Regions from separate parts of the Homo sapiens genome. Here region 1 is linked to region 2. The links are contacts of gene promoters, found by promoter capture Hi-C in human tissues and cell types (Jung and others, 2019). All regions are on one chromosome and are shown on one strand. Each heading gives the region's core, a stretch centred on a gene start or on the middle of the fragment in contact. The rest is flanking DNA. Distances are from core to core; before and after follow the strand shown.

Region 1 (3,763 bases), core at 656-3,155, 220 kb before region 2:
GTATGTTTATATACATATAGATATATTCTATGTATACTTATGTAAAAGTGAAATGAATGACCATAATAACACAAGGTATTGGAGGGAGAAGTTAGAATTATTCTGTTGTTAAACAGTACTGGTACTATCCATAAAGCAGTATAGCATTATTTGAGACTTGGATTAGCTATAAATGTATATTGCAAATGCTAGGGGAACTACCAAAAAAAAGCCTTTAAAAAAGTAGAATGGTATGCTAAGAAAGGAGAGAAAATGGAATCATATAAAATGTTCAATTAACACCACAAAAGGTAGAGAAAGAATGGCAGACAAAAATAGGAAAAAAACAAATGGAAAAATGGATAACAGTAACAAATATGGTAGAAATTGATCCAACTATATTAATAATCACTAATCAATGGTCTAAATACACCAACTAAAAGGATTACCAGAGTGAATTAAAAGATCCTAGGCTGTGCACAGTGGCTCATGCCTGTAATCCTAGTGTTTAGGAAGGCCAGGATGGGAGGATTGCTTTAGACCAGAAGTTCAAGACCAGCCTAGGTAACATAGTGAGACCCCGTCTCTACACAAAATTTAAAAATTAGCTGTGTGTGGTGGCACTTGCCTGTAGTCCTAGCTACTGGGGAAACTGAAGCAGGAGGGTTGCTTGAGCCCAGGAGTTGGAGGCTGCAGTGAGCTACGATCATGCCCCTACACTACAGTCTAGGCAACAGAGTGAGACCTTGTCCCCCACCAAAAAAGAAACAAAGAAAGAAAGAAAGAAAATAAGACCCAAATATATGTTGTCTACAAAATAAAAAAAGCACTTTAAATACAAAGACACATATAGATTCACTAGGAATTGCAAATTAAAACAATAAGATACTACTACCTACCTATAAGAATGACCAAACTCCAAAACACTCACTGCACCAAATGCTGGCAAGGATGTAGAGTAACAGGAACTCATTGATTGCTGGTAGGAATGCAAAATGCTCACTACTACTATTAAAAACAAAGCCTTTTTTTTGCCAGGGGTGGGGGTGGAGGATGGAGTCTCTCGTTCTCACCCTGTTGCCCAGGCTGGAGTGCAGTGGCAGAATCTTGGCTCACTGCAACCTGTGCCTCCCAGGTTCAAGGGATTCTTGTGCCTCAGCCACCAGAGTAGAAAACAAAGCCTATTTTTAATGGAGAAATAAAACATATTCATAATATAAAATAAAAATTGAGAGAGTTTGTCAGTAGTAGACCTGCCCTACAATAAATGTTAAAGGGACTCCTCCAGGGTGAAAGGGACGGACACTAAGAACAAGGGTAAAGGTAGCTACATAAGTAAATATAAAGGACAATAGTATTGCATATATGGTTTATAACTCTTTTCTATATGATTTAAATGACAAATGAATAAAACAATTATTAAAATGCTATGTTAATGTGCATTCAATGTATAAAGATATAATTGTGACAATAACAACAGAAAGGGGAAAGGGATGGGGCTGGAAAGGAGTACAGTATTTACCTACTATTGAAAATAAGGTATTGGTATTAATTTAAACTTTACTGATGTAAAGTTAAGATATTAATTGTAATCTCCAGATAACCACTAAGGAAAAAACTTTAAAATATACAGAAAAAGAAATGAGAAGGAAATCAAAACAAGAAAGCTTGATCTAAGAGCAAGTTGTCAGAATAGTTCTTTGGCTCCAGTCTCCCTCACAGAAATCCAACTAGCAACTATCCATGGACAAGAATTCCTTTGTGAATACCTCAGAACTTGAAAGTAAGGCTGAGACATCCTCTGGGACAGGAGAATGGAGACAAGTTGCATTCAAAGGGTAAAAGGAATAGCTTCAATTTGACTGAAAAGTATACTTCCCCCAAGCCTGCACAGCACCACACAGAGAGAACTCCCCTAGGTCCAGTTTCCACTGTGGGAAAAGAGAGTTGGAGGCAAACATTCAGCTTCCTCGCCAGTCTGGAGCCCTTTGAAGACAGATCACTCCTGTCTTGCCCCATGGGGAACATAGGGCAGGCAGAGGTGGTGGTGGTGGTATTATCAACAGGGATAGGCCATCTGGGGCGGGGCTCATAGTGGCTAACATGCAAATTTTGGTGGTGGCTCTGCATTCTGGCCAGCAGAAGCACTTCACCAGAGAAACTGGCCAACAGAATTGCTCCTAACACAAAGAAATAATAAATGCTTGAGGTGATGGATACCCCAATTACCCTGATCAAAACATTGTATGCCTATATAAAAAATCACACGTACCCTGTAAATATGTACAGCTGTTATATTTTCACTATTTTTGTGAAGAATGTCACTGGTATTTTGATAGGGATTGCATTGAATCTGTGGATCATTTTTGACAGTATGATTATTTTCACAATATTAATTCTTCCAATCCATGAACATGGCATGTCTTTTCATTTATTTATGTTTTCTTCAATTTTTTCATCAGTGTTTTATAGTTTTCCTTTTAGAGATCTTTCACCTCTTAGTTAAACTGATTCCTAGGGGTGTTTTTGTACCTAGTATAACTGCGATTGCATTCTTGATTTCTTTTTCCATTAGTACATTGTTGGTGTCTAGAAATGCTACTGATTTTTGCATGTTGGTTTTGTATCCTGAAACTTTGCTGAATTAATTCATTAACACTAACCTAGGCTGAAGAAGTTTGGGGCAGTGACAGCAGCAGTGAAAGCTGTTGATATCTTTAGTGGCAAGAGTTTTTAGGGTCTTCCTATTTTGGGATTCCCCACAACATGGAGACTTAGCCAAAGGGATCCCTCTTAGTGTCAGGTCTGACATGGCCTATAAGCAGTTGTAGAGGCTCTGAGTTCCAGGTGCAGGTGCTCAGGGTGGCTGAGGGGCCACACAGACCTAAGCTTAGGGTCTTGTGACCCCACTGTGGCACCTGGGTCTTAGGGTTCAGGTTTGTTCTCTGTGGCCAGGTTGGATGTATCATGCCCACAGACTCAGGTTCTGTGACTCTCAGGCATCTTCTGGCAGCTCAGGCCCATGGAGCGTGTGATTCTACCCCTGGAGGGCAGGGCAAAGCACTGGCCTGGCTCAGGGGAAGAAGGGGTACTCTGGAGGCTTGGGCCTACAGAGCAGGGTATGGCTGCAATTTGGGAATATGAGTCATAAGGCTCAGTAGCAAATCATATCCCAAAGGATGAAGCATCATACAGTGGTGACTCTAGACCCTGGGATAGTGGGACTCAGCAGTATCCTAGACTCTGTGAAACCAGGATCAATGGCAACAAGTACCCCAAAATGGCAGAGCACAGCTGTCCTTTGAGCCCTGTGGGGCATGGAACAATGACTCTACTTCTTGGATAGAGGGGCAGGGCTCTCCCCAGGGAGCAGAGTCTCTGTAGCTCAGACTCTAGAGCTAGTCCAGCTCCAGGAAAGCAGGGCAGTAGAGTTATTTGGCCTATAAGTGTTGTGTCTCAGCTCAGTCACTGCCCTACTTCCCTGGGACGCATGGTACTACATCATCTCATCTCTGGGATGCACAGTTGCTCAGATTGGCCAGGGCACCAATTCCCCAGAGGATGATGTGCCACTTCAGCTCAGGCCTTGGGGGGTGTGACTGTCCAGGATAAATTCATAATTACTAGTCCCACAAAGATATAATACAAAGAAAAAATCAATGGAGCCTGACCCCAAAATGATCTAGCTGTAAGAATAAAGACTAGAATTTTAAAGCAGCCATTATATTATGCTCAAAAATGTGAGGGAAAAATACGCTTTTAATGAATGGATAGATAGGATACT
Region 2 (2,500 bases), core at 1-2,500:
ATCAGTTCTGGACCTCTGAGGAGAATGGTAACTGTGTTTTATTTTCAGAGAGCCTTCTTTCTGCCTTAGCATAGTGTCCGGGACAAAGCAATGATGATAAATGGACAACCATTATTGAACATTGACCCCGTAGCTGGCATTGCACTAAGTACTACATTATTTTAACTCCTCCATTCTACTCCTCTATGCCCATTTTACAGGCAAAATGATACTCACTCGAACGTTTTTGTCCTCTGTTTCCATTCTTGAAACATGCCAAACCTCCAGTTTTAGGGCCTTTTCCTAAAACTGGACATAGGAAGGGCCCATGTCTCTCTCTTCCATATTCTAATTAAGCACTCAGCACACATGCCATCTCTTCAAAGCTTTTCCGACCGCCTATCTACAACAGCCTGCCTCCACAGTTTCACACACTCTTTTACGTTATTTATAAAAGAGTCTCACTCAATGGAAGCTGGATTTCCTCTCCTGTAAAATGAGGTAGGCCCTCTCGGCTCAAGGTCACTCCCTGTGATTCTACACAGAGAGGGAGTGGGAAGAGAGGGCGCTCGGCAGCAGAGGAGGAGGAGGAAGGAGGGAAGGGCGAAGGCGGGAGTGGGTGCAGAAGCGGGGGGTCTGGCGGTCCAGGGGGGTAGAAGGGAGGGGCGGATTCGAGTGGGCGCCAGGTGGAGGTGGGGCCAGGGTTGTCAAGGGAGCACGAAAGGGGTCGCGGTGTGTCCGGCAAGGACTGGGTAGGGCAGCGCCTGCTATGGACTAGGGGCGAGGGCTACGAAAGGGTTGTTGGAGGGGTGGATGCGGGTGGATCCCGAAACCAAGCGGCTCCGAGGGGCGACTAGAGGTGGGGAGGGGGCGCGCAGGAGTTGCCAAGGTCGGACAGAGGGGAGCGCGGTCTATCCGGCTGGGAATGGGCCGGACAGGGCGCGGGGTTCCGGGGTCGCGGAGAGGCGCGGAGGTAGATCTGAGCCGAGTGGAGGGCGCGTGGGGGTGGGTGCAGAGGGGCGCCGAAGGGATCCGGGCCCAGCGGCCGGTGGAGAGGGGCCGCGGAGAGGCGCAGGTGGGAGCTGGGCGGCCGAGCGAGCGCAGAGGGGGCGCGGCTTGCGCGGCTTGCGCGGCTGGGCGGGAACAGGCGCTCGGTCGGGGGCGGGGGGTGCGCCGGGGTAGCCGAGAGGCGGACGCAACAGCGGGGTCCCGCGCTGTCTGGGCGGCCCCAGGGGCTGTCGGCTCACTTCCGGGAACGCCGGGGAACCGCAGTAGCCGCCTGCTAGTGGCGCTGCTAGCCGGCCGGCGCAGGCTGCCGAGCGGGTGAGCGCGCAGGCCAGGCCAAAGCCCTGGTACCCGCGCGGTGCGGGCCTCAGTCTGCGGCCATGGGGGCGTCCGCGCGGCTGCTGCGAGCGGTGATCATGGGGGCCCCGGGCTCGGGCAAGGGCACCGTGTCGTCGCGCATCACTACACACTTCGAGCTGAAGCACCTCTCCAGCGGGGACCTGCTCCGGGACAACATGCTGCGGGGCACAGGTGGGAGCTCTGGGCCCAGGGCCGGCCGTGCGCTGTCACCCGGGTCGGACTTCGCGGGCGAGGGGCCGAAGCTGGGCACGCGGGTCCCTGGCTGCGGGCGCGGCATTTCCCTCCCGCCGCCCGGGACAGAGACCTCGGGCTGCTGAGCGACTGCGCCCCAAAACCTCCGGCCTCCGTGGGCCGCTTCGGGCGGGTTATGGGGTGGCGGTGGGGGAAGGGACTGGAAAGTTAGGTCGAGCTCGAAGTTCAGAGATGAAAGGAAACCACCGGGCTTTGTTTCAGAGGCCCAAGTCCTCCCAGTGGCAGCCACTCTTGGGGGTCCATCGAGCTGAGCCGCAGCTTGTTCAACGTGCTGGTGCCTTTGGAAGACTGTCATTAGCCCTGCTAGAGTCTGCTCGTTCTGTTTTGTTTTCTTTGTTTCTTTCTTTTCTCTTTCTTTTTTGGTGTGGTTAAGCTCTATGAGATCTTGTAGTTCTGACCTTTCCCCCATATTCCCAAGGCCAAGTATTATTTACCCTTGTTGCAGTCATAAAATTATCTCATTTTGATATCCTTAGATTTCGTAGACACGAAGGCTATTCTTGTGCATGGTTCTATAAAATATTTTGTTTCTCATGCCAAATAAATTCTTACAGCTCGGCACGAAAGGCAGTTAACAATCTACACTATACAATGGGTGAATTTGTGGTATGTAAATTCTCTCTTAAGAGGGTTGTTTTTGAAAAGCCAATCGCAGGAGTTTTTTTCTCAAAAAATGTTGACCTTACTTTTCAAAATAGAACCCGTTTTGAAACTCATTTTGAAACCCATTTACATAGAAATAATGCTTCCACAAGGCCTTTTTCTTTTGTTTTCCTTCTTTTTTTTTTTTTTTTTGTAAGGATAGCAAACAGGATAGACGTGCATAGCATAAAAAACAACGCCCTCTTTCGTTCCCTACCTCAGTCCCATTCTTCGGAGGGGAACAGAGTTTTCCTTCTAGAAA

The links. The method cuts DNA at HindIII sites, captures the fragments that hold promoters and counts their contacts. A contact is called where the count stands out against the background at its distance.
Region 1: a contact is called between a fragment that was not itself captured here and the fragment with the promoter of AK3 in region 2, in 1 of the 25 tissues and cell types used here (lymphoblastoid cells).

Annotation. Positions count from the first base shown.
Region 1 is chr9:4,957,532-4,961,294 of GRCh38, reverse strand. No RefSeq gene overlaps it. Among named protein-coding and RNA genes, the nearest start is that of JAK2, 26 kb to the left of the region's middle. The HindIII fragment of the contact is 6,432 bases long and covers 1-3,763 here.
Region 2 is chr9:4,739,952-4,742,451 of GRCh38, reverse strand. AK3 (adenylate kinase 3) reads left to right here and starts at 1,250. Exons shown (of 5, transcript NM_016282.4): 1 at 1,250-1,515. The coding sequence starts at 1,365. RefSeq lists silencers at 861-1,350, 1,581-1,720. The HindIII fragment of the contact is 7,449 bases long and covers 1-2,500 here.